Regions from separate parts of the Homo sapiens genome. Here all the other regions are linked to region 2. Evidence: promoter capture Hi-C in 16 types of primary human blood cells and fetal thymus (Javierre and others, 2016). All regions are on one chromosome and are shown on one strand. The core of a region is centred on a gene start or on the middle of the fragment in contact, and the rest is flanking DNA. Distances in the headings are between cores, read along the strand shown. Region 1 has its middle 230 kb from the start of NXTAR. Region 2 holds the start of AR (androgen receptor). Region 3 has its middle 200 kb from the start of NXTAR. Region 4 overlaps OPHN1 (oligophrenin 1). Region 5 has its middle 220 kb from the start of NXTAR.

Region 1 (5,592 bases), core at 2,454-4,953, 470 kb after region 2:
TGACAGAGCCAAGCTGAAATGCAGGTGCTGATCTTGCTCATTAGTAAGTAACTAATGCCAACACACCACATTTTAGTTATTTTCCTTTTTGATAGTGACAAATGACTGCAAATCACTGCAAATAGCTGAACTCTGGTTGTTGAATTTTCAAAATCAAGAGTCTTATCCCAGCCATCTGGTTAATGAGGCAGGGGTGCTGGCTTTTCTGAAACCCAAAGTAATTGTGACTATTCAATTCCAGTGACACATTGCTTGGCAGGGGCAGGAGGGAAGAGGTAGTCTGAGCTAGACATGGTTCTCTATAGAAATAGAAAGTGAAGATTGTAGAGATTCTGTAACAAGTCAACTGACTTAAAGTAGAACACAGAGAAACTTCCTTGAAGTCCATCTCCCTTGGTGGGTGGAACTCTCTTCACAGCACTTGGAGGGAGATAGATGTTAAATAAATAATCACAAAATTGAAAGCATAATTATAGATTATGAAAAGCATTATTAAGTAAATAATGGCATGATAGATCACAATGAGGAAATTGCCTGGCTTAGTTTGGGGCCTCGAGGCAAGATTCTCTGGGAAATTCACATTTAACCAGACAGCTGAAAGATAAGAAGTGACACATGCAAAGAAATAGAGGGAAAGTGTCCAAGTCAAAAGGATGTGTGCTAAGATCTTGAGAGGGAAACAGGAGAATAGGATGTTTGAGGAAAAGGAAGAAGGCCAGTGTAGCTGGAGTTTGAGTATGAGGAAAATAAGGTCGTGAGATGAGTTTAGAGAGATAATCTCTGGAGATAGTGCAGAACTTTGTAGGCCATCTTAAGGGATTTGGATTTCAAGTGAAATGGGAAACCATTAAAAGATTTAAACAGGGGAGTGGTATGATCTGATTTACATTTTTAAAAGGTCAATCTGGTTGCCCTGTGGTGAGTTTATAATAGGATGAGATGAGAGAAAATGAAGAGACCAGTTAGGAGGCTATTAAAATAGTTCAGGCAAGAGATGGTGATTGCTTAGGCTTAAATGATAGCCATGGGAAGGACAGAGTGCACATTTTTTAAATAGACTTTGCGTGAAAAGAAGTGGTGAATGAGAGAGAGGAAAATGTCCAGATGGTCTCCAGGGCTCTTGGAATGAACCATTAGGTTGATGGAGCTACCATTTCCTGAGATAAGAAAGATAAAGGAAGAGTAGATTTGGGCTAGGAGAGTAAAGAATAAATCAAGAGCTTAGTTTTGAATATGTTGAGTTTGAGATGTCAGGGAGACAATGAGATGGAGATGTCAAGCAGGTAGTTGAATTAGTATAGCTGAAGCTCAGAAGATAAGAATGAGCTAGAGAGAGAAATTGGAGAGTTTGTTGCGGGAAGTCAGGGACCCCAAATGGAGGGACCGGCTGAAGCCATGGCAGAAGAATGTAGATTGTGAAGATTTCATGGACATTTATTAGTTCCCCAAATTAATAATTTTGTAATTTCTTATGCCTGTCTTTACTACAGTCTCTAAACATAAATTGTAAAGATTTCATGGACACTTATCACTTCCCCAATCAATACCCTTGTTATTTCCTATGCCTGTCTTTACTTTAATCTCTTAATCCTGTCAGCTGAGGAGGATGTATATTGCCTCAGGACCCTGTAATAATTGCATTAACTGCACAAATTGTACAGCATGTGTGTTTGAGCAATATGAAATGTGGGCACCTTGAAAAAAGAACAGGATAACAGCAATTGTTCAGGGAATAAGGGAGATAACCTTAAACTCTGACCGCTGGTGAGCCAGGTGGAACAGAGCCATATTTCTCTTCTTTCAAAAGCAAATGGCAGAAATATCACTGAATTCTTTTTCTCAGCATGGAACATCCCTGAGAAAGAGAATGCACACCTGGGGGTGGGTCTCTAAACTGGCCCTCCTGGGCATGGTCATCTCTTATGGTCGAGACTGCAGAGGTGAAACAGACTCCAGTCTCCCATAGTGCTCCCAGGCTTATTAGGAAGAGGAAATTCCCGCCTAATAAATTTTGGTCAGACCCGTTGATCTCAAAACCCTGTCTCCTGATAAGATGTTATCAATGACAATGGTGCCCGAAACTTCATTAGCAATTTTAATTTTGCCTCAGTCCTGTGGTCCTGTGATCTCGCCCTGCCTCCACTTGCCTTGTGATATTCTATTACCTTGTAAAGTACTTGATGTCTGACCCACACCTATTCGCACACTCCCTCCCCTTTTGAAACTCCCTAATAAAAACTTGCTGGTTTTTGTGGCTTGTGGGACATCACAGAACCTACCGACATGTGATGTCTCCCCCGGATGCCCAGCTTTAAAATTTCTCTCTTTTGTACTCTGTCCCTTTATTTCTCAAGCTGGCCAACGCTTAGGGAAAATAGAAAGAACCTACACGAATAATGGGGTAGGATCCCCGATAAGAGTTGTTGGCAAAAAAAAAGGGCTGTTTAAAGCCATGAGTGTGTAAGAAGTCCTTGGGAAGATTGTTTATAGAAGAGGTAGAAGGGGCCCAGAATTGAGCCCTGAGGAAAGTTCAATATTTTTGAAGTTACAAAGAGAAAAAGGAATCAAGCTTCAGAATCAGGAGGCAGAGCAAGATGGTAGAATAGAAGGCTCTACCGATCTTCACAACAAGAAGGACACAAATTTAACAAGTATCTACACAAAAAAAGCACCTTCATGAGAACCAAAAATCAGGTGAGCACTCATAGTATAGTACCTCGTTTTAACTTCATATCACTGAAAGAGGCACTGAAGAGACAGAAAAAAAAGGTCTTGAATTGCTGGCACCACCCCTGACAGAAGCAGCATGATGCAGAGAGCATTTCTGTGTGCCGGAGGAGAGAGAGCACAGCAATTGTGAGGCATTCAACTCAGTGCTGTCCTGTTAGAGCAGAAAGGAAAACTGGACCAAACTCAGCTGATGCCCACACGTGAAGGGAGCATTTAAAGCAACCCTAGCCAGAGGGGAATTGCCAATCCCAGTGGTCCGAACTCAAGTTCCCACAAACCTTGCCACTGAGGGTTAAAGTGCTCTAGATCTCTAAATAAACGTGAAAGGCAGTATAGGCTACAAGGACTGAAACTCTTAAGCAAGTCCTAGCGCTGAACTGGGCCCAGAGACAGTGGACTGGAGGGGGCATACTAGGACACCAGCTGGGGTTGCTAAGAAAGTGCTGGCATCAGTACAAAAATTAGGCATGGTGGTGCATGCCTGTAATCCCAGCTATTCAGGAGGCTAAGGCAGGAGAATTGCTTGAACCTGGGAGGCAGAGGATGCAGTGAGCTGAGATTGCGTGACTGCACTCCAGCCAGGGTGACAGAGGGAGACTCCAGCTAAAAAAAAAAAGAAAAGAAGAGAAAAGAAAGAAAGAAAGTGCTGGCATCACTGTCCTTTAACCCCAGGCTGCACAGCTCATGGCTCCAAAAGACTGCCCTTACTTCTGCTTGAGGAGAGGGAAGAATGGGGAGAGCTTTGTCTTGAATCAGATAGCAGCTTAGGCACAGCAGGATAGGGCACCAGTCAGAGTCCTGAAGTCCCCTTTCCAGACCCTGCCTCCCGGATGACATTTCTAGACATGCCCTCGGCCAGAAGGGAACTCACTGCCTTGAAGGGAAGAACCCAGTCCTGGCAGCATTCATCACCTGCTAACTGAAGAGCCCTTGGGCCCTGAATAACCAGCAGCACTACCCAGATACTAGGTTGAGGGCTTTGGGAGAGCCTCTGAGACTTGCTGGTTTCAGGTGAGACTCAGCACATTCTCAGCTCTGGTGACTACAGAGTGAAACTCCTTCTGCTTGAGAAAACTAGAGGGAAAAGTAAAGTGGACTTTGTCTTCCACCTTTGGTACAAACTTGGCCACAAGGGGGTAGAACATCAAACAGGTTCTTGTGGTCCCCGATTCCAGTACTTGACTCTGGCATGGCATTTCTGGACCTGTCTTGGGCCACAGGGGAGTCTACTGCCCTGAACGGTGAGTCTCAGGCCAGGCAACATTCACCACAAGCTGACTTGGGAGCCCTTGGGACTAAAGGGAGTATCAGCAGTAGTCTGGCAGTACTCCGCATGGCCATGTGGTGGCAGTGGCCGCAGGATGAGGCTCCTCTGCCTTTGCAGAGGGGAGAAAAAAGTGGGAAGAGCTGTGTCTTGTTTGAGGGCCAGCTCAGTTGCAGTACAATAGAACACCAGGTAGATTTCTAAGGTTTTTGACTCTAGCCACTGACTGCCGGACAGCACCTCTGGACCCACCTGGGGCCTTGGGAACTTCATCACCCTGAAGGGAAGAACACAGGCCCGGCTAGTTTTGCCACCTGCTGGTGATAGAGCCCCAGGACTTTGAGCAAACATAGGTGGTAGCCAGGAAGTGGTAAGAGCAGGCCTTGGACAAGACCCAGAGCTGTGCTGGCTTGAGATCTGACTTAGTGCATTCGTAGTGGTGGTGGTGACAGAGGTGCTTGTGTCACTTCAACCCCAAATTTAGAAGGCTCAGAACAGAGAGAAAGACTCCATTTGATTGGGAGAAAGTAAGGGAAGAGAACAAGAGTCTCTGCCTAGCAATCCAGATAATTGCCCCAGATTGTTTCCAAGATCATCAAGGTGGTACCTCTATGAGTCTGCAAGAACCACAGCATTACTGAGCTTGGGGTGCCCCCTAAAGTAGATACAGCTTTTATCCCAATATCCAAGTCCTTTCAAATATCTAGGAGGATTTCCCAAGTAGGATCAGACTAACAGCAGATCTCTCTGAAGAATCCTTACAAGCTAGAAGAAAGCAGGGGCCAATATTCAACATTCTTAAAGAAAATAATTTTCAACCCAGAATTTCATATCCAGCCAAACTAAGCTTCATAAGCAAAGGAGAAATAAAATCATTTACAAAAAAACAAATGCTGAGGGATTTTGTCACCACCAGGCCTGCCTTACAAGAGCTCCTGAAGGAAGCACTAAATATGGAAAAGAAAAACCAGTAGCAGCCACTGCAAAAACATACCAAAATATAAAGACCAATGACACTATGAAGAAACCGCATCAACTAATGTGCAAAATAACCAGATAGCATCATGATGACAGAATCAAATTCACACATAACAATATTAACCTTAAATGCAAATGGGCTAAATGCCCCAATTAAAAGACACAGACTGCCAAATTGGATAAAAAGTCAAGACCCATTGGTGTGCTACATTCAGGAGACCCATCTCACGTGCAAAGACACATAGGCTCAAAATAAAGGAAGGGAGGAATATTCACCCAGCAAATGGAAAGCAAATAAGAGCAGGGGTTGCAATCCTAGTCTCTGATAAAACAGACTTTAAACCAACAAAGATCAAAAAAGACAAAAACGGGCATTACATAGTGGTAAAGGGATCAATGCAACAAGAAGAGCTAACTATCCTAAATATATATGCACCCGATACAGGAGCACTCAGATTCATACAACAACTTCTTAGAGACCTACAAAGAGACTTAGACTCCCACAAAATAATAGTGGGAGACTTTAACACCTCACTGTCAATATTAGACAGATCAACGAGGCAAAAAAGTAATAAAGATATTCAGGACTTGAACTCAGCTCTGGACCAAGTGGACCTAAT
Region 2 (5,632 bases), core at 3,133-5,632:
ACAAAAACCAACATGATTCCTGCTCTTAGGAAACATACAGTTCAGTGAGGAAAACAGATTGTGAGAAGTCCTCCAACAAATACTGGGTGCTATTAAAATATATTAAAAGGTGAGTGGGTGAGGGACTTGAGCTAGCCTAGGTGGTTCAGGAAGTCTTCCTGGATGTGCTGATATGCATAGGCATTAACTAGATAAATAGAGAGAAGGATGAACCAACATTGCAGGTAGAGGGAACAGAATATGCAAAGGCAGGAAGGATTATGGAGTCGTTGGAGGACCTGAATAAAGGCCAGTGTAAGTGGATCTCAGAAAACAGGAGGAAAGGTGTATGAGATGAGATCAGAGAGGCAGATCATGTGGGGTATGGTTAATGTTTTGGACTTTTCTATTAAGAGCAATGGGGAGACAGTGACAGGACTTAAACGGGGAAATAATATGACCAGATTAAACTTTCTAAAAAACCCTCTATGCAAATATATATTGAGAGTTAATTATTGACAAAGATTCAAAGGCAACAAAGTGGAGAGAGAATAGTATTTTCAAAAAATGGTGCCAAAACAATAGGACATCTATATTAAAAGTTGGGTATCTGTCTACAAAACTTAATTCAAAATGGATCACAGACCTAAATGTAAAACTGAAAGCTATACAACTTCTGGAAGAAAACACAGATGGGAATCTGTGTGATCTTGAGTTTGAAAATGATTTATTATATCTGACACCATAATCCGTAAGTTAACATAATTCATAAGTGAACAAAGTGATGAACTGGACTTCATCAGAATTTAAAATGTTTGTGCTTCAAAAGACACTGGTATGATAATGAAGACAAACTACAGATAAGATATTGTTGAATCATATTTCTGATAAAGGAATTGTGCTCAGAATACATAACTCTAAAACCCCCATAATAAATTACAAGTAGCCCAATTAAAAAAAAAAAAAGAGAAAAAATTTACAGTCTTCATCAAAGAAAGTATACAATTGTAAAATAAGCACATGAAAAATGCTCTGCATCTTTATTCATGGGAGAAATAAAAATTAAATGGGAAAGACACCTCTAATTAGAATACTAAAATTAAAAAGACTGACCATACCAAGTATTGGTGAAGTGGAAATGTAAAATGATACAATCACTTAGGAAGATGATTTGGAAGTTTCTTACAAAAGTAGGTGTATACCTACCCTGTGACTCACCCATTCCATGGCTAAGTATTTACCTGAGAGAAATGAAAGAATACATCCATACAAAGATGTTTATACAAATATTTATAGCAGTTTTATTTGTAGTAGCCCCAAACTGAAAAGAACCCAAATGTCCATCAAAAGTGAATGGATAAACAAAGCGTGGTACAGCAATGCAATAGAATACTACTTAGCAATAAAGAAGAATGAGCTAGTGATATACATAACAGCTTAAATGTACATCAAAGGCATTGTGCTCAGTGAAAGATGCAAGTAAAAAAAAAAAAGAGTACATGCTGTATAGTTCCATTGACATAAAACTCTGGAAAGTGAAAAACAGTCTATACTGACAGAAAGCAGATCATTGGTTGCCTGAGGAGGAGGAGTATAGGAGAGGTGGAGGGAAAATGTACAAAGTGGCACAATAAAAACTTTTGGAATCATAGATATATTCACTATCTTGATTGAGTGATGATTTCATGAGTGCACGCGTGTGTCAAAAATGATCAATTTATGCAACTTTAAATATGTGCAGTTTATTGTATATATCAATTATACCTCAGTACGGCTATTAAAAAGAAACCCTCTGGCTGCACAATGCAGAACTGATTCTAGGAAAGAGTGGAGGGAGGATGACCATTTACAGTGCTCCAGGTGGAAGAGAACGGTGCCTTCTGGAAGTGAACTAGGTTGGCAACAACAGAGATGAAATAAATGGGCAGATGTGTGAGATACTTAGGAAATAAAACCCGATGGTCACCATTTTCCAAAGGTCAGCTCATCCTGGCTTTCCAGAGCAAAGAGCTAGGGAAGACTTTATTAATAAATCCCTCTTGAAGTTGCAGAGGAAGCTTATAGCAGAAACTTACTCTCAACCTGACTAATCTGAGAGAACACCTCTGGTTCCATTTGATTACTAAAAAACTGCAAAGAACAGGAGGAGAAAGAAGAAGAAAGCTGGTACAAACAGTGAACTTATATAATATTAATCAATAATTGTCTCTTGTTCTTAAAAGCAATGGGAAGAAAATGAGATTTGAGCTGGAAGATCAGAGTTCAAAATCCAAATAAAGTATATGGCCCTAATATGCTTATAGTAGTTAACCTTTCCTGATAATGATATAATTGTTGACAGCACCATCTTTAAAAATAAAAATAACATAGTAATCCTTCAGATTTGTAGAATGCTTTCCTGTTTACAAGTTTGTTCTATACACATTATGTCTTTTAAATGACACACTAGCCTTCTGAGGGTAACTTATATTGGCAACAGTTTTCAGATGTGGAAACTGTGAAGACAATGTTGGTGATGTGGAAGCAACATAAACTTTGGAGTCTTTCAGACCCAGGTTTGAATGTCAGACTGCTTTTTATTCAGAGTAACTTCAGAGCATTATTTCTCACCTTAATTTTTTTTCAGGCCTCTTTGTGTCTATGTGTCCTCTTCACTCCTGTCCATTGTTCATTCAGTGATTTTTGCACCTTCCTTCACTGTTAGTGTGTAGACACATAGTTCTCCTGGCTCTGAGACCTATGTTAATTCCATTCTACCATCCTGCCAGCCCACTCAATTCCTATTGAGCAATGCTAGTTGAAAGTTGTGGTGGGATTAAATGTTGCAATGAGTATTCAAATGAGGTTGAAGTATCTACGCATTCTACTTACATATGGTGAGGTATATTCAAGGAAGGCTGTAGCCATTAAAATCTCAGGAAATAATTTTTCACCTCCTCAGGTGAAAGGGTCTTCAGGCCTTTGTGTTCTGGAAGGTTCATTTATAGCCATTTCCCAAATGACAATGCGATTGATGAGTCTAGAGTCTAGCTCAAATAGCAATGGACTGGAAGACTAGTTTAGGTTTTACTAATGTGGAACATAGAACAAATTATGTCCTTGTTTCAGCCTGTTCATCTGTGAAATAGAGCCTATCATATCCAGTCTTCCTTGCCTTTAGGTTTGAGTTACCTTCTTTGGTCAAGGTAAGTAAATGCCTATGATGTTTGGCTGTGCACAAGATAAAGCTACAACAAAGCTACAACCCATCTTTTCTCTGTAGAAGACTGCAAAAAGCAAAAGAGACCCAGGCAAAAATCTCGGAATGACTTTTGGAACAGAGAGCCTCCCCAGAATCAGAAGTCAAAGGAATTTAAAACATAGGGAGGCCCAGGGTCTCTACTGACATAAAGGAAAGATGTTTTCCTTATAGGTTTACGTTTACATTTTCTCTCTCTTTCCATTCCCACTTGCATCTCCACCTTTACACAGGGCTTATGGGACCTCCTCCACAAAAGAGCAGTTGCAGTAACCCACATCATCCTCTACGCCTGGCTGTCCATCAAGAGGCGAAAAGCAGCCCTATATAGGTTCTATCCTTGGATAGTTCCAGTTGTAAAGTTTAAAATATGCGAAGGCAACTTGGAAAAGCAAGCGGCTGCATACAAAGCAAACGTTTACAGAGCTCTGGACAAAATTGAGCGCCTATGTGTACATGGCAAGTGTTTTTAGTGTTTGTGTGTTTACCTGCTTGTCTGGGTGATTTTGCCTTTGAGAGTCTGGATGAGAAATGCATGGTTAAAGGCAATTCCAGACAGGAAGAAAGGCAGAGAAGAGGGTAGAAATGACCTCTGATTCTTGGGGCTGAGGGTTCCTAGAGCAAATGGCACAATGCCACGAGGCCCGATCTATCCCTATGACGGAATCTAAGGTTTCAGCAAGTATCTGCTGGCTTGGTCATGGCTTGCTCCTCAGTTTGTAGGAGACTCTCCCACTCTCCCATCTGCGCGCTCTTATCAGTCCTGAAAAGAACCCCTGGCAGCCAGGAGCAGGTATTCCTATCGTCCTTTTCCTCCCTCCCTCGCCTCCACCCTGTTGGTTTTTTAGATTGGGCTTTGGAACCAAATTTGGTGAGTGCTGGCCTCCAGGAAATCTGGAGCCCTGGCGCCTAAACCTTGGTTTAGGAAAGCAGGAGCTATTCAGGAAGCAGGGGTCCTCCAGGGCTAGAGCTAGCCTCTCCTGCCCTCGCCCACGCTGCGCCAGCACTTGTTTCTCCAAAGCCACTAGGCAGGCGTTAGCGCGCGGTGAGGGGAGGGGAGAAAAGGAAAGGGGAGGGGAGGGAAAAGGAGGTGGGAAGGCAAGGAGGCCGGCCCGGTGGGGGCGGGACCCGACTCGCAAACTGTTGCATTTGCTCTCCACCTCCCAGCGCCCCCTCCGAGATCCCGGGGAGCCAGCTTGCTGGGAGAGCGGGACGGTCCGGAGCAAGCCCAGAGGCAGAGGAGGCGACAGAGGGAAAAAGGGCCGAGCTAGCCGCTCCAGTGCTGTACAGGAGCCGAAGGGACGCACCACGCCAGCCCCAGCCCGGCTCCAGCGACAGCCAACGCCTCTTGCAGCGCGGCGGCTTCGAAGCCGCCGCCCGGAGCTGCCCTTTCCTCTTCGGTGAAGTTTTTAAAAGCTGCTAAAGACTCGGAGGAAGCAAGGAAAGTGCCTGGTAGGACTGACGGCTGCCTTTGTCCTCCTCCTCTCCACCCCGCCTCCCCCCACCCTGCCTTCCCCCCCTCCCCCGTCTTCTCTCCCGCAGCTGCCTCAGTCGGCTACTCTCAGCCAACCCCCCTCACCACCCTTCTCCCCACCCGCCCCCCCGCCCCCGTCGGCCCAGCGCTGCCAGCCCGAGTTTGCAGAGAGGTAACTCCCTTTGGCTGCGAGCGGGCGAGCTAGCTGCACATTGCAAAGAAGGCTCTTAGGAGCCAGGCGACTGGGGAGCGGCTTCAGCACTGCAGCCACGACCCGCCTGGTTAGGCTGCACGCGGAGAGAACCCTCTGTTTTCCCCCACTCTCTCTCCACCTCCTCCTGCCTTCCCCACCCCGAGTGCGGAGCCAGAGATCAAAAGATGAAAAGGCAGTCAGGTCTTCAGTAGCCAAAAAACAAAACAAACAAAAACAAAAAAGCCGAAATAAAAGAAAAAGATAATAACTCAGTTCTTATTTGCACCTACTTCAGTGGACACTGAATTTGGAAGGTGGAGGATTTTGTTTTTTTCTTTTAAGATCTGGGCATCTTTTGAATCTACCCTTCAAGTATTAAGAGACAGACTGTGAGCCTAGCAGGGCAGATCTTGTCCACCGTGTGTCTTCTTCTGCACGAGACTTTGAGGCTGTCAGAGCGCTTTTTGCGTGGTTGCTCCCGCAAGTTTCCTTCTCTGGAGCTTCCCGCAGGTGGGCAGCTAGCTGCAGCGACTACCGCATCATCACAGCCTGTTGAACTCTTCTGAGCAAGAGAAGGGGAGGCGGGGTAAGGGAAGTAGGTGGAAGATTCAGCCAAGCTCAAGGATGGAAGTGCAGTTAGGGCTGGGAAGGGTCTACCCTCGGCCGCCGTCCAAGACCTACCGAGGAGCTTTCCAGAATCTGTTCCAGAGCGTGCGCGAAGTGATCCAGAACCCGGGCCCCAGGCACC
Region 3 (5,157 bases), core at 1,937-4,436, 440 kb after region 2:
TTTATAGTCTGCTCTGATTAACTGGTGTGAAGAGGCTTCTAAATGCAAATCAAACTAAAAAATTGCTTCCCTAAAATGTTCTTTAGTAAAACAAATGCAAAACATAAGAAACTGTCTCCTTAATCAGCACTTTCAGACAATACTTAAGATTAGCTTCTGATATTGACATACTCAATGTCCTTTCCACATTTTCATTGATTATTGAAAGTCTGAAATTGTAGATATGAGATGTAAGCAAAAACTGATTCAGAGGTTGCCCCAATATATGAACTCCAACTTTTGGCTGAACATTTTAAAGATAATGTAGATACTGGAAGATAGAAAGAACAAAACCTCATTAAAAAAAAGTGTTACCTAAAAGAGAGATTATTTGGTTTAATGTGAAAAACATCCCCTTCTTTGTTGTTTTCATACTTTGAGGTTTAATAAGTACAGGCTTTTTTATTATACAACTTGATAAAATTGTCAAGGACCCAAATTATATCAAAATGTGTATGATACTCTCTCTTTTATGCATATGCATCAAAGTATCTTTTATTGCATCTAAATTTTCTTCTCTTTCCTTACAGAAGGCAAATAATTAGCTATTTCTTCAAAGCTGGCTCCCTCTCATTTTTCTATACTATTTTCTCTTTTTCCCCTCCCTTATAGGGCTTGAAAGATTAACTGATTTAAAAATCATTCAGTTGCTAGGTGCATAGAGTAGAAATATTTAGTTTAGATAGTCAAAGTTGTTGAAAGAAAGAAAAGTAGATTGAACTATGCTTTTCATGTGTATTTATATGATAGCTTTTATAACTATAGCTATGACATCATAAGAAAATACTTCAATTTCAAGATAAAATTTTATATGACTTCATCAATAATTGAATTACAAAAAAAGTTACCATAATATTTTGGTTTGTTTAGGACAAAGGTTAAATTATTCAAATTTTGTAATAGCCCAGATTTAGTTTTGAGTTAAATTAGTTCTCAGTGTTTCTACAGTTTTTTTAAATTAAAAATTCTATTTTTAAAATTATGTTTACCAGACTACCTACAGGCTTTTCTGTGTCCCAGAACTTCTCGCTTGTAGAAAGTATCTTTCAGCAAAGGCACAGACACAGTGCTGGGCTCAGTGGGGAAGTCTGTGGTTCTGTCTCAGCAGTTGAGCAACCCAAGTGCTTATGAAGGGACTTGGAGAAAGTGACTTCTTCTCCCCCTTGCCCACCACTGCAGACACAGCTAGGGCTTCTCCCACAGGACCTCAGCCCAGGTGCACCTGTAGACAACTTTTTTGGAGCACTTCAGGATGACTGCATCCCCATGGGAGGCATAACCCCTGGGTTCACGCCTGCAAGAGAGATGTAGTTCCACTCTTTATGTACATAGAATGTTGGCATTATTTCAGATGGACAGATATATCTCTCTAATCTAATATCTGGAACAATAGGACAGGGGCATGATGGGGGAGGTGGAATGCTTTCCTTCCAGCTTGGTAGTGGAGCTGAGGGGGCTCCCTCCCTTCCTTCTGTGAAAACTGCAGCACATTTCACTAGGAGCTCCCCCAGCTACCTCTGTAAGGGCTGGGACTTTTGCCCACCATTGGGGTATTGAATATACCCATCTGCTTCAGCTACAGCCAGTTCTTACTTGTGAACACCTCCTACTTGCCTGAAGACTGAATTGTTTAATCTAGTGGAAAAAAATACTGGGGAGGAAAAAGTGCACACAATTGGGGAGTGAGACCTCTGCCATTCTGACCCCACAAGAGACAGTGAATCTGCTGTCACACCCAGTACATCACTACTACAAGCAGCATCTGACAAAGCCATTGCACAAAAATTCTCTATAACCAAGGAATTTATGCAGACTTCCACTGAAAGAACCCAGAGTCTAACCTAGGTGATCATAAACTATATATATTAATGTCACATCTTCTTCAATGGGAAAACACCCCAGCTGAAAAAAATGATTTCAAAAATAACAAGAAATAGTCTATGTAGGTGAGAAGGAAGCAGAAAAATAATTCTGGTAATATGAAAAAACAAAGCTTTACAATACCCCTGGAAGATCACATAAATTCTCTAGTGATGAATTCAAACCAGAATGAAATCTTTGAAATTCAAGACAAAGAATTCAAAAGATTGATTATAAAATTGCTCAGGGAGATCCAACAGATAGCTGAAAACCAATATAAAGAGATCAAAAAAATGGCCAGGCGTAGTGGTTCATGCCTGGAATCCCATTGCTTTGGGAGGCCAAGGTGGGAGGATCATTGGAGCCTCCAAAATAAATTTTAGAAAAATTAAAAAATTCAGAGTATGAATAAAATTTTTTCCAAAGAGATCGATTTAAAAAAAAAATAGAAATTCTGGAAATTAAAGACTGTTTTAGGGAATTACAAAATGCAGGGGAAAATTTTAACAATAGTCTAGACAAAATAAAGGAAAGAATTTCAGAGCTTGAAGACAAGTTCTTTGAATTAACCAAATAAGACAAAAATAAAAACAATAAAATAAATGAACAAAGTCTCTGAGAAATATGGGATTCTGTAAACCATCCAAACCTAAGAATCATAGATGTTCCTGAGGGAGAAGAAAAAGCCAAAATTTGAAAAACCTATTTGAGGGAATAATTGAGAAAAACTTCACTGGTCTTGCTGGAGATTTAGACATCCACATACAAACAGCTCAGAGAACTGCTGGCAGATTCATTGTAAAAAGAATCTTTACATTGAAAAAAGAATCTTTACATTGTAAAAAGAACCTTTACATTGTAAAAAGAGTCTTTGGTGGCTTAAACATCATCAAAGCATATAGTTATCAGGCTATCTAAAGTCAATGTAAAGGAATGAATTCTAAAAGCAGTGAGACAAAAGCAACAAATAACTTATAAAGAAAAACCTAGCAGACAAATAGAAGACTTCTCAGCAGAAATCTTACAAGCCAGAAAAGATTGGGGGCTTATCTTCAGTCTCTTCAAACAGAAAACCTGTCAGCCAAGAATTTTGTATTTTGCAAAACTAAGTGTCACAAATGAAGAAGAAATAAAGTCTTTCCCAGACAAAAAAAAAAAAGAAAAGAAAAAGTTGATGGAATTTGCCACCACTAAACCAAACCTACAAGAAATAATCAAAGGAGCTCTAAATATGAAAATGAAAGATTGATACACACCAATATAAAAAATGACAGGGCTTAGAAAACAGTAACACAATGGGAAAAGCAAAGGACATACATAATAGCAAACTTGATGACTGTAACAGTACCTCACATATAAAGATTAACTTTGAATGTAAATGGTATAAATGCCCCAATTAAAAGATATAGATTGATAGAATGGATTAAAAACCATAATTCAAATAGCTGCTGACTTCAAGAGAACCACTTAACTCATAGAGATTCTTACAGACCCAAGGTAAAGGAGTGGAAAAAAATATTCCATACACATGAAATCAAAATTAAGCAGAAGTATCTATTAGACAAAACAGATTTCAAATTTTAAAAAAAGACAAAGAAGGTCATTATATAATGATAAGTAAATAAATTCAACAAGAAGATATAACAATCCTAAGTATACATAAACCTAACACCAGAGTTCCAGATTTACAGGACAAATACTGCTAGACCTAAGAAAAGAGATAGATAGCAAAACAATAATAGTGGGGGACTTCAAGACTCCACTGACAACACTGGATGGATTATTGAAGCAGAAAATTAACGAATAAAAAAATGCTGGACTTAAACTTGACTCTAGTGAGGGAAGAGAGAGACACTCTCATATTGTTTTATATTGTTTTATACTGTTTTATACTCAATGCTTGTTTTAAGAAAAAAACAAGGAAGTGAAATCAAAGACAGGCAGCCCGGCGCCAGGCCCAAAACTGGATCTGGGCCTGCCTGGCCTAAACCTAGTAGTTAAAAATCAACTCATGACTTAGAAACCGATGTTATTCATAGATTCCAGATATTGTATAGAAGAACATTGTGAAACTCCCTGCCCTGTTCTGTTTCTCTCTGACCACCGGTGCATGCAGCCCCTGTCATGTACCCCTTGCTTGCTCAAATTAATCACGACCCTTTCATGAGAAATCTTTAGTGTTGCGAGCCCTTAAAAGGGACCGAAATTGTGCATTTGGAGAGCTCGGATTTTAAGGCAGTAGCTTGCCAATGCTCCTAGCTGAATAAAGCCCTTCCTTCTACAGCTCGGTGTCTGAGATGTTTTGTCTGCAGCTCGTCCTACTACACTAGAACAAATGGACCTAACAAACATTTATATAACATTCTATCAAAAAAATTGCAGAACATACATGTCACAGACGTCCATGTGAAGAGACCACCAAAGAGGCTTTGTGTCAGCAATAAAGCTTTTTAATCACCTGGGTGCAGGCAGGCTGTGTTCGAAAAAGGAGTCAGCGAAGGGAGATAGGGGTGGGGCCGTTTTATAGGATTTGGGTAGGTAGTGGAAAATTACACTCAAAGGGGGTTGTTCTCTTGTGGGCAGGGGCAGGGGTCACAAGGTGCTCAGTTGGGGAGCTTCTGAGCCAGGAGAAGGAATTTCACAATGTTAATCAATCAGTTAAGGTGGGGCAGGAACAAATTACAATGGTGGAGTGTCATCAGTTAAGGCAGGAAATGGCTATTTTCACTTCTTTTGTGATCCTTCAGTTGCTTCAGGCCATCTGGATGTATACCTGCAAGTCACAGGCGATATGATGGCTTAGCTTGGGCTCAGAGGCCTGACAATACATTCTTCTTCTCATCATCACATAGAACATTTTCCAAGATACGTCATATGATAGGTCATAAAACTAGTCTCAATAAATTTTTTAAAAATGATATCAAGTACTTTCTCAGACCACAGCAGAATAAAATTAGAAATCAATTCCAAGAGGAACTCTCAAAACTATACAAATATACAAAAATTAAACAATCTGCTCTTGAATTATCTTTGGGTCAGTGATGAAATCAAGATGAAAATTTAAACGTTTTTCAAAATCAATGATAACAGCAACATGAGTTATCAATATATTGGGGATACAGCAAAAGCACTGATAAAAGCAAAGTTCATTGTACTAAGTACCTATGTCAAAAAGACACAAAGGCTACAATTTGACAACCTAACATCACATCTCATGGAAATAGAAAATAACAAAACAAACCCAAAGTGAGCAGAAGA
Region 4 (5,237 bases), core at 2,446-4,945, 500 kb after region 2:
TTTATTATTTGGATATAGCATATGTCTTTCACACAGGCAATCTTTCTAGCCCTCTACTAATGTCCTTGGCATCAAGTGCTTCATTTCCCCCAGGAAAATGAAGGCTTTTCTTTATCGAAAACTTATCTTTAAGGTATCTTGTCCTTCGCGAAGGACATGAACAGACACTTCTCAAAAGAAGACATTTATGCAGCCAAAAAACACATGAAGAAATGCTCATCATCACTGGCCATCAGAGAAATGCAAATCAAAACCACTATGAGATATCATCTCACACCAGTTAGAATGGCAATCATTAAAAAGTCAGGAAACAACAGGTGCTGGAGAGGATGCGGAGAAATAGGAACACTTTTACACTGTTGGTTGGACTGTAAACTAGTTCAACCATTGTGGAAGTCAGTGTGGCGATTCCTCAGGGATCTAGAACTAGAAATACCATTTGACCCAGCCATCCCATTACTGGGTATATACCCAAATGAGTATAAATCATGCTGCTATAAAGACACATGCACACGTATGTTTATTGCGGCACTATTCACAATAGCAAAGACTTGGAACCAACCCAAATGTCCAACAATGATAGACTGGATTAAGAAAATGTGGCACATATACACCATGGAATACTATGCAGCCATAAAAAATGATGAGTTCATATCCTTTGTAGGGACATGGATGAAATTGGAAACCATCATTCTCAGTAAACTATCGCAAGAACAAAAAACCAAACACCGCATATTCTCACTCATAGGTGGGAATTGAACAATGAGATCACATGGACACAGGAAGGGGAATATCACACTCTGGGGACTGTGGTGGGGTCGGGGGAGGGGGGAGGGATAGCACTGGGAGATATACCTAATGCTAGATGACACATTAGTGGGTGCAGCGCACCAGCATGGCACATGTATACATATGTAACTAACCTGCACAATGTGCACATGTACCCTAAAACTTAGAGTATAATAAAAAAAAGAAAAAAAAAAGAAAAAAAAAGGTATCTTGATTCTCTCTGAAATTTTTTATTATTTCTGATGTTTTTTTCCAGGCTTGTAATGTGTCAAGGCCACTTATCTGCAGCTACCTTAGAAGTAGTATAATTGATCTATGTTCTCTCAAAAGCAATTTTTTCCTAGTCACAGAACTATTTCTTCTTTTACTACTTTATTTGTTCTAGTTATTACAGAATCAAAGAACTTCTTGAAAAGAGAATACTTTCCCATGATAACCAATTACTTTAGAAATACTCTGCATGACACTATAATTGAAATTAGATGCTAAGTTTTGTCCCTCAGTGGCTGAACACCCCCAACCTTTTAAAAAACAAAAACTTCAAAAATAAAAATTCAATATTTCTTTTTGTAAGCCATCTCTTGATTTTGCTATCACCACAGAAAAATTTGTAGAGATTTGACCCCAATACATCAAGTACTGCAGAGGCACCAAGACCTTTTCTGCTTCTAAAACTGCATTTGTGGATGTCACCAGTCTCTTAGGCTGAAACTGAAACTGCCCATGCTACAACCTTGGCGAAGTATGGAGACACCTGTGAGGACCTTTTTACTTTTTGAAAAATGGCAAGCCAAGGACTTAACAACTGCCAACTAAAACACAAATCCTTCACTTCACAAAATAAAATTAGATGATCATCTTAAAAACATTACCAAATGTGCAAGCTGAATATGAAGAGAAAGCCTAACTCAGGAATATCTTCCAGCCCAGTTTGCATTTCCATATAAACTGAACCTGCACCCCCTCCCTCCTTCAAATGTTTGCCTTTCAATATTTTGTTAGGCAGGCAAGAGTCAAGAGTCATGCCAACTCTAGTAATGTGGCCTCTGTTCAAACACCTACCACAGTGTGGCAAAGGGAAAACAGCATGGGCTAAGAGTGGCCTGGATTCAAATCACAGTCCTTTTATTTACTTTCTATGTGCCCTTGAGTTGTTTACTTTAGCCCCCTGGGCCATAATTTCTTTCTCTGTAAAATGAGAATACTTGCATGAATATGAAACACTGAGCAGTTAATAAATACGTGCTTAATAAATGTTAGGTTCTTTGTTATCCCTGCCAGTTCATCACTTTCAGTTCATCCATTGCCAGATTCTCTAACTTGCTGGCCAAGGTATGTTGATAATTTCCTATAGCTGCCACTCTTCTATTATCACCCTCTTCCCATAGCCTCTGCAAAATGACTGCCCATCCATTAAGCCTAGGGCAAGCCAGTCTCATTCCATGATAGCATGCCTCGCCACAGAAGCTTTTTGCACTTTAAGTCAGAGTGCCAAAGGCAGGCGTTGAAATTCATTCTTTGGCATTCTTAAGGTATAGACCAGAGCAAAGGCAGAGCTACTCAGCCACTGCTCCCTGGCCTCCAGGCAGACTGCTGGTCCCCAGCTCTCCAAGATAGGCCCTTGATCTGTGTCCCAGGCAACACACAGCAATCTCATGACATTTCTGGGACATATTTTCTACTGGGATCACAGCAGCTTTCTAGGGCTCTCAATAATCTTCCAATGTTTGCATCGGTGATTGTGGTATTTTCCCCCAAGAAAACCAGAGTCAAACCATGTTTCTTTAAAGGGACTGTGGCCCTATTAGCCATGCTTTCATGGCCAAAATCTGCACACCTGTCTGCTTTATTCAGGATAGAGCAGGGAGGCCACAGCCCTGAAACAAGGGCTCAAAAATCACTTCCTAGGTGAGGTCAGTAAGGCCTCACAGAGACTACTATTGGGGGCAAGCAGCAGGTGAAATGATGGTCACTTGACTCTTTTACTCCTGGTTTCTTAGCAACCTGGCCTTTGAGACTGGGTACAGTGGAGTGAGTTCAACCGGGCCACCTGGATATGCCTTGATTTAGAATGGCATCAAGTTTCCACTCAATTACTTTCAAAAAGGCTCTCAGTGTACTTGGCCTTACATGTTCCTAACTCACCAATAAACCATGTTTGGAATTCAGTCTTGAAAATGACTACTGCCTTTCAGTAGCACTGTTCCAAATGCATCTCTGAGTGGGTTTGCACATGAGTGTGCATGTACTCACTCTCTATCTCTTTATCTAGGTTTATCTGTCAGTACTATAATCAGTGCACTAACAGGGCCTTGGTAGAAGAGTGCAAGTAGGAAAGCTCTTTCCCTCACACTGGGCAACATTATAATTATACAGACGCTACAGACAAGCTACGGCCCAGGCATCTGCATAGAAACAAGTACTGATGCTCTTTCCAGCAACTTCCCTTCAACAAACAGGAATTAGAAATGTCCATTCCTCAGATTTCTGCCCCATTACACCAATTTTTAGGTCCTTTCCAATAATAGAGATAGCAAATGAAAGGGACCTGGCAAGGGTTTATGTCCTAACATTTTTCACTTGGTGGCAAATATTCAAGAAAAAGGGTAAAAGCCAACCCCCAGAAATGATGGCCACTAAAGCCACAAACCACAAGGTCCCTTGCTAGATAAGTGTGATATAATGGGGAAAAAAAACTTGCATAGGAGCCTGGGACCTGAGATCTTGTACTGGTGTGATCACTACCTTGCTCTGCCTCAGTTCCCCCGACTGGAAACTGGGCAGTTGTTAGACTAAATGATTTTGAAAAGCCCTTCCAATCAAGGGCTTATATGGATTGTAAAAAGAGTATTTTACTCAAGTGCTGTGGTTCTTGACTTTTTTGGGTCACGAGCCCATTTGAAATTTAGCAGAACATTATGGACTATCTCCCCAGAAAGGGCATATTGTCATGGAATTGTGCATACCATCTCAGGGGCATCATGGAGTTTCTGAGTCCATGGACACTGGGTTAAGAACTGCTTTTTTCAGGAGATAAAAGAGTTTATGTGCAGAAGGCAAACATGAAGCAGCAGTGACAGCTGCCTGGCCTCAATCCACCTTAACAATTTTTCTAGCATTTGACCCCAAAATAGAACTCCTACAGGACCAAACACAGTCTCCTTTTTTTAAAAAGAAATGTGTTCAGCTTTTGTTTGTTTCTTGATTGCTTGACAGGAAGCTGTCAAAAAAAAGGAGAAAGAATAATCCAAATAGACCTAGGCTTTTACATGCAAAACATGCTTTGCAGATTTGTCCTAAGTGGCTGCATGTAACAGCAGGAAGGCCACCTTCCTAAGTCCACATGGAGGTGCTGTGGGGGCATCACTCATCCCACTCATAGCCTCGCAGGAGCAGACGGGCTCTTGGCAACATACTGCAGCACCAGAGCGCTGACATGGCACCAGTGTCCATATCCTCAGTAGGAGACATGTTGAGATTCTCCAATGTTCAGCAAACATTTCTATTCCCTTCCAACCAAGGTAAGCAATGGCCCCAACTCAAGTGGCCTTCAGTTCAAGGTAAGACCCCTGAGATCAGTCTTTAGCCCCAAATCTCTCAGAGTTCAATGGCCCTCTGAGGAAGCAGGAAGTTCAGGGAAGAGTTGAAAACTGAGCTCCCCTCTTCAACTCAGGTAAGTGGATATCTTGGTTTTGGCAGAGTCTGGCTTGAGGGAGTCCAGCTCTTCACAGTGTTATAGGAACTCAAAACAGACCTTCTGAGGGGATGAAGACAGAATACAAAGGAGATATAAACACCTGTCTAGGACATATGCTCCTTATTTTATGGCCTCCCAGAGAGAGTCTGAAAGTGCAAGGCTAGGAAGGAGCTGCTCTTCAACACAAAATGACTCCGCACACAAAGGTTTGAAGAAGAAAGACTCTTTCAGAACCTGGAAAGGGTCCTCTGAGGCCAAGGCTTTTAAAACCTGAAAGAGAAAGAAGAGAGTAGGGAATTAGCGAGGACTGGTCAAGTACTTAACAGCCACTGATCAGTGGGGCTTCTCTTGGTAGGTAGCTAAGCCTATAATTGGTAGCTCATCTTCTGAGCAACAGCGGATTGCTGGGCAAAGGCTCTTACAAGTCAAATCTCATGAAACAGGCCTAAGATGGTGCTATGACCAGGGCTGGACACTTTGTGCCTTTGACCTCAACTCAAACTCCCCAAAATCTACATGGAGAAATAGAAGCCTGATACTAGAACCTCTGAGATTTCTTCCCACATCATGCCCACTGCCTTTATGGTCATACAATAACTATAAACTTCCTTTTAACAGGGACTTCACCTCCATAGGGGCTGATAAGGAGAAGCTTATCTACCCACGGACCTCTGAGGACTGGCAGTGACAGGGAAAAAAAGAAGGTTAGGGAGCACATGAAAAGCCAAGCTCCAGATACTTGGATCTCATT
Region 5 (5,563 bases), core at 2,356-4,855, 460 kb after region 2:
GTCTATTCATAGATCTCTAAGGTCTTGTTTTATGAATTTGGGTGCTCCTATGTTGGGTCCATATACATTTAGGATAGTTAGGATAGTTAATTCTTGTTGAATTAAACTCTTTGTCATTATTAATGCACTTCTTTGTGTTTTTCTCCATTGCTGGTTTAAAGTCTGTTTTTTTAATCTTGAAATTAGCAACCCTTGCACTTTTTTGTTTTCTGTTTGCTTGGTAGGCATTTCTCCATCCCTTTACTTTGAGTTTGTAGGTGTCATTGCTTGTCAGGTGGGTCTGTTGAAGACAGCATACAGTTGTGGCTTGCTTCTGTACACAACTTCCCACCCTGTGCCTTTTAATTGAGGCATTTAACCTGTTTACATTCAAGGTTAATATTGATATGTGCAGATTTGGTCCTCCCACCATGTTGTTGGCTGGTTGTTATGCAGACTTGATTGTGTAGTTGCTTTGTGGTGTCAATGATCTACGTATCTAAGGGTTTTTGTGGTGGCAAACCCTCATCTTCATTTTCCATATTTAACACTCCCTTGAGTACCTCTTGTAAGTCAGGTCTGATGGTAACAAATTCCCTTAGCATTTGCTTATCTGTAAAGGATTTTATTTCTCCTTTGCTTAGGAAGCATAGTTTAGTTGGATATGAAATTCTTGGTTGGAATTTCTTTTCTTTGAAAGTGCTTAATATAGGCCCCCATCTCTTTTGGCTTGTAGGATTTCTTCTGAAAGGTCCACTGTTAGCCTGATAGGCTGCCTTTTATAGGTGACTTGTCCCTTCTCTCTAGCTGCCTTTAATATTTTTTCTTTCATTTTGATGTTGGAGAATTTGATGACTATGTGTCTTGCAGATGGTCTCTTGTATCATATCTCACAGGGGTTTTCCACCTTTCCTAAATTTAAATGTTGGCCTCTCTAGCAAGGTTGGGAAATTTTTCATTGATAATATCCTCAAATATGTTTTTTGAAGTTTCTTGCTTTCACTTCTCTTTCAGAGATGCCAATGAGTTGTAAATTTGGTCTCTTTACATAATCTCATATTTCTCAGAGGTTTTGTTCATTCTTTTTTCTTTATTTTTGTCTGAGTAAATTTGAAGAACTTGTCTTCAAGCTCTATGAGTCTTTCCTCAGCTTGGTACATTCTGCTGTTAATACTTGCAATTTTGTTATGAAATTACCATAGTGAGTTTTTCAGCTCTACCAAATCAGTTTGGTACAATGGTCATTTTTCTTTTAGCTCCTGTATCATTTTATTGTGTTCATTAGCTTCTTTGGCTTGGGTTTTGAATATCTCCTGAATTTCCATGATCTTCATTCCTATTCATATTCTGAATTCTATGTCTGTCATTTCAGTCATTTCAGCCTGGTTAAGAAGCATTGCTGGGAAGGTAGTGTTGTCATTTGGAGGTAAGAAGACACTGGCTTTTAGAGTTTTCAGAGTTCTTGCACTGGTTCTTTCTCATTTATGTGGACTAACATTCCTTTCATGTTTGAAGTTGCTGTCCTTTGGATGGGGTTTTTTGCTTTTATCTTCTTTGATGTCCTTGGATGTTTGATTGTGGTATAAGGTGGGTTCAGTCAATTGGGTTCATTTATGGAAAATTTTAGGGGGCCAAGACTCAGCTGAGCACTCCTGGGCTGCACGCTCTAACACTGAGGGGCTAGTACTGAGCCCTTGGCTTTGTTCTCTGGCCCTTCAAGATTAGGAACCTGCTGTGCTGGAGAGGCTGATGTGTCTAATCCTCTCGCTACAGCACTCCGATGGAAGATGCTAGCCAAAACACTTTGTTAGGGCAGTGGCAGCAGGTTCTGTGCTCATGTGCATATGCCATTATCCACGGTGTTGCAGCAGAGTGCAAACACATCAACTGGGACAGAGCACCAGTGGAAGCAGAACAGCAGCATCCATACACGCATTTGTACCAGTGGTGGTGGCAAAAAAAAAAAAAAAGGTTACTTTAATTAAAGATAGTAACTAATGTAGATGATTGATTGTGTTGAGTACAGTACTTGAGAGTTACATGTATGAAAACAAGAAAATAGATGTGATTTTCTATTTATTTTTTAAGTTTTAAAAAGTTATTATGGTTCATTCAAATGATAGATTAATTATGGGTATTATTTTTAATCTACCAAGAAGATAATTATATTTAAAGCTATAAAGCTTTACTTTATTACCTATTTATATACTTTTATGTCTGAATATGCCTAAATGCATTTAAAAAAGGTTTATTAAAAGAGCTTTTGCTATTATTTTTAAATAAATAATGTACCAAAAGAAGAAAAATAGAATTTGGATTTTTTCTATAAAATGTCTATGTTATTTTATGCCCAAATTAGTAGAGGTTCCTTTTTGTCATTACATGATTATATTAACTCTCAGTGCTTTTAGCATAGTCTGAAATCATTTTTTTGAGATTCCCTTAGATAGCACTGACCTAGTTTTTTGTGCTCATTTTAAAAACCGCAATGAAAGACCTAAATTCACTCTTAAAATATAAGCCATTGCCAGAAATTAAATTATCTCAGATGACTAAAATAATTACTTTTACCCTGGCCTAGAAGCTGGGAGAAATCAAAAGCAAATATTTACATAGACAGTAGATGATGGTAGATATAAATATTTATATAGATAGTAGTTCACTGATATGGTTTGGATTTGTGTCCCTGCCCCAATCTCATGTCAAATTGTAATCCCCAATGCTGGAGGAGGTCCCCAGTGTTGGAGGAGGGACCTGGTTGGAGGCGATTGGATCATGCAGGCAGATTTTCCCCTTGCTGTTCTCATGATAGTGAGTTATCACAAGATTTGGTTGTTTAAAACTGTGTAGCACCACCCCTCTTTGCTCTCTTCCTTCTTCTCCAGCCATGTAGGATGTGCCTGCTTCTCCCTCACCTTCCGCCTTGAGTGAAAGTTTCCTGAGGCCTCCCCAGCCATGCTTTCTATACAGCCTGAAGAGCCATGAGCCAATTAAACCTCTTTTCTTTATAAATTACCCAGTCTCAGGTAGTTCTTTATAGCAATGCTATAAAGAACAGTCCAATACATCCACCAATTTGGAAATCTAAAATACTTTGGAAACAAAAAAGTTTTTAACCTTGATTAAAAGCAAAAAAATAAAAATAAGACAACCAGTTGAAGTACTTTTAGGTGCTTTGTTGTTTTCAAAATAGTTATTATTAACTGTGAGAGGTAAGTCTCTGATTTAAAAAAAAGGAAATGAAAAAAGTTAAGATACTCATCACACAATATAATATTTGGCTCTCTCAGGATATCCAACTGATAGCACCAAATAATTTAAAATGAATTTAGCAAAAATGTTTCATGACATTACCTATAATAACAAAGATAAGCTGGCAACAATATTAAATTATCATTGTTGGGGAAATTTTAGAGGTGTTTCAGAGCTTGTTCCAAAATATGTCCCACCTGCCAACAACGTAATTCTGGTAAAACTGGAGAGGTGAAATATGGACAGAAAACAACCTTCTGAGGGCCTATTAAACACCTTCAAAAGGACTTTATATAAATGCCTCCTGAAATAGGTTGTTAATAGGTTCTGGTTATTACTTGTTTATTCTCTGGACATTATTTGTTTATTAAAACTTTTCCTTGCTGGAGAGCTACTATCTTATTGACCACTTCCGTTTCCCAAAATGTTTAATTTCCTTTTCCAACCTGAGATACTCTCATTTATCTCTCTAATGACAGAGATGCCCATTTTACTAGTAATGTTATTAAGAAATTCTATAAATTTGGCCGTACGCGGTGGCTCACGCCTGTAATCCCAGCACTTTGGGAGGCCGAGGTGGGAGGATCACGAGGTCTGGAGATAGAGACCACCCTGACTAACACAGTGAAACCCCGTCTCTACCAAAAATACAAAAAATATTAGCCGGACGTGCTGGCGGGTGCCTGTAGTCCCAGCTACTCAGGAGAATGGCTGAACCCGGGAGGCGGAGCTTGCAGTGAGCCGAGATCGCACCACTGCACTCCAGCCTCGGCGACAGAGCGAGACTCCATTTCAAAAAAAAAAGAAAGAAAGAAATTCTATAAATTTTTGCCTTTTACCAGAATATTCGCTATTTTATCTACAGTTTTAGAAAAAATAGAAAGGACTAATAGAATTCTAAAACTGAAATTAAAAACACTCTCAGAAACCCTTGAATTCTCATGTCCTAAAGTATTACCATTACCTTTAATATACTAACAAAATTAACCTCCTCTGGGATCCACAAGTTATCTCCTCATAAAATAATAATGGTCCACACTATGCATTTGATATTACAAGCAGATATAATTAATCACTTCAAGGGACTCATATGATACCTCCACCTTTACCATCAAGTACAAGCTACATTTTCAAAACAGTCACCTAAATAGCTTCTACATGATCTGCAGCCTTGAGAGTCAATTTCTTGGAAAAGACTACAGAAAACTGTGCCCTTGAGCCCTGATGAATATGATCTTATCAGATACTGTTAACAACTGACACAGCAATAAAACTCCAAGGTATAGATTCTTAGCTTCATCATCTTTCACAGGTCAAAAATATCTGTATTTTTTTTCTCCAGACTACTAAACATTCATTACATCTAGAAATCATAAACTGAGAATTCTTAGGAATCCCCTGGAATCTACTGACTTCAGAAATAGACAGTTTCTGCCCAGGACAATGAAAAAAGATTAATTTTCTGATTCTTCAACATTTTTCCTTTCCCTCTACTACTAATCCGTCTTATTCTTCCACTTTTGTATCCTTTAAAATACTAATGGGATCTCCCTTATCATCATCCTATTACCTCCAACCACTATGATCTCCTACCACTTAAGAGAAAGCAAAACCCACTTACATATTTTTCACAGGCTATAGCTACTGCTCTGAATCTAATACTTTGCTGGACTTGTCATTCTTTATTTTACTCTCTAGACAAAAATTTAATGGCTGTTCTTTTAAATATTTCAAAAGACAAATTGCCCTTAACAAACTCCTCCTGCTACTTATGTTTTCCTCACATCATTAATCCCAAATTTAATCTTGTAAAAATTAAAGCTTGACCTCACATGGACAAAATGCTGAGGTCATTACAATCCTATAAGCAAGACCTAGTTTGTCAGAAATAGGTGCAAATGCTGAGATTTTTAAAAATTTAATTTATTATACTTAAAGTTCTGGGATACATGTGCAGGATGTGTAGGTTTGTTACATACGTATACAGGTGCCATGGTGGTTTGCTGCACCCATCAACACATCATCTACATTAGGTATTTCCCCTAATGTTATCCCTCTTCTAGCCCCTGACAGGCCCTGGTGTGTGATGTTCCCCTCCCTGTGTCCATGTGTTCTCATTGTTCAACTCTCACCTTTGAGTGAGAACATGTGGTGTTTGGTTTTCTGTTCTTGTGTTAGTTTGCTGAGAATGATGGTTTCCAGCTTCATCCACGTCCCTGCAAAAGACATAAATTCATCCTTTTTATGGCTGCATAGTATTCCATGGTTTATATGTGCCACATTTTCTTCATCCAGTTTATCACTGATGGGCATTTGAAATGGTTCCAAATCT

The links. The method cuts DNA at HindIII sites, captures the fragments that hold promoters and counts their contacts. A CHiCAGO score of 5 or more calls a contact.
Region 1: a fragment that was not itself captured here is called in contact with the fragment with the promoter of AR in region 2 in 1 of 17 cell types (M0 macrophages); the score reaches 5.1 in M0 macrophages.
Region 3: a fragment that was not itself captured here is called in contact with the fragment with the promoter of AR in region 2 in 2 of 17 cell types (M0 macrophages and M2 macrophages); the score reaches 5.2 in M0 macrophages.
Region 4: a contact is called between a fragment that was not itself captured here and the fragment with the promoter of AR in region 2, in 1 of 17 cell types (M0 macrophages). The highest score is 5.1, in M0 macrophages.
Region 5: a contact is called between a fragment that was not itself captured here and the fragment with the promoter of AR in region 2, in 1 of 17 cell types (M2 macrophages). The highest score is 5.3, in M2 macrophages.

The regions. Positions count from the first base shown.
Region 1 is chrX:68,014,703-68,020,294 of GRCh38, forward strand. No RefSeq gene overlaps it. Among named protein-coding and RNA genes, the nearest start is that of NXTAR, 230 kb to the left of the region's middle. The HindIII fragment of the contact is 2,272 bases long and covers 2,568-4,839 here.
Region 2 is chrX:67,539,639-67,545,270 of GRCh38, forward strand. It overlaps AR (androgen receptor), which reads left to right and starts at 4,383. Exons shown (of 8, transcript NM_000044.6): 1 at 4,383-5,632. The coding sequence starts at 5,509. The HindIII fragment of the contact is 7,103 bases long and covers 2,035-5,632 here.
Region 3 is chrX:67,981,045-67,986,201 of GRCh38, forward strand. No RefSeq gene overlaps it. Among named protein-coding and RNA genes, the nearest start is that of NXTAR, 200 kb to the left of the region's middle. The HindIII fragment of the contact is 2,313 bases long and covers 2,031-4,343 here.
Region 4 is chrX:68,042,408-68,047,644 of GRCh38, forward strand. It overlaps OPHN1 (oligophrenin 1), which reads right to left. Exons shown (of 25, transcript NM_002547.3): 25 at 1-4,756. Among named protein-coding and RNA genes, the nearest start is that of NXTAR, 260 kb to the left of the region's middle. The HindIII fragment of the contact is 2,882 bases long and covers 2,255-5,136 here.
Region 5 is chrX:67,998,549-68,004,111 of GRCh38, forward strand. No RefSeq gene overlaps it. Among named protein-coding and RNA genes, the nearest start is that of NXTAR, 220 kb to the left of the region's middle. The HindIII fragment of the contact is 2,890 bases long and covers 2,161-5,050 here.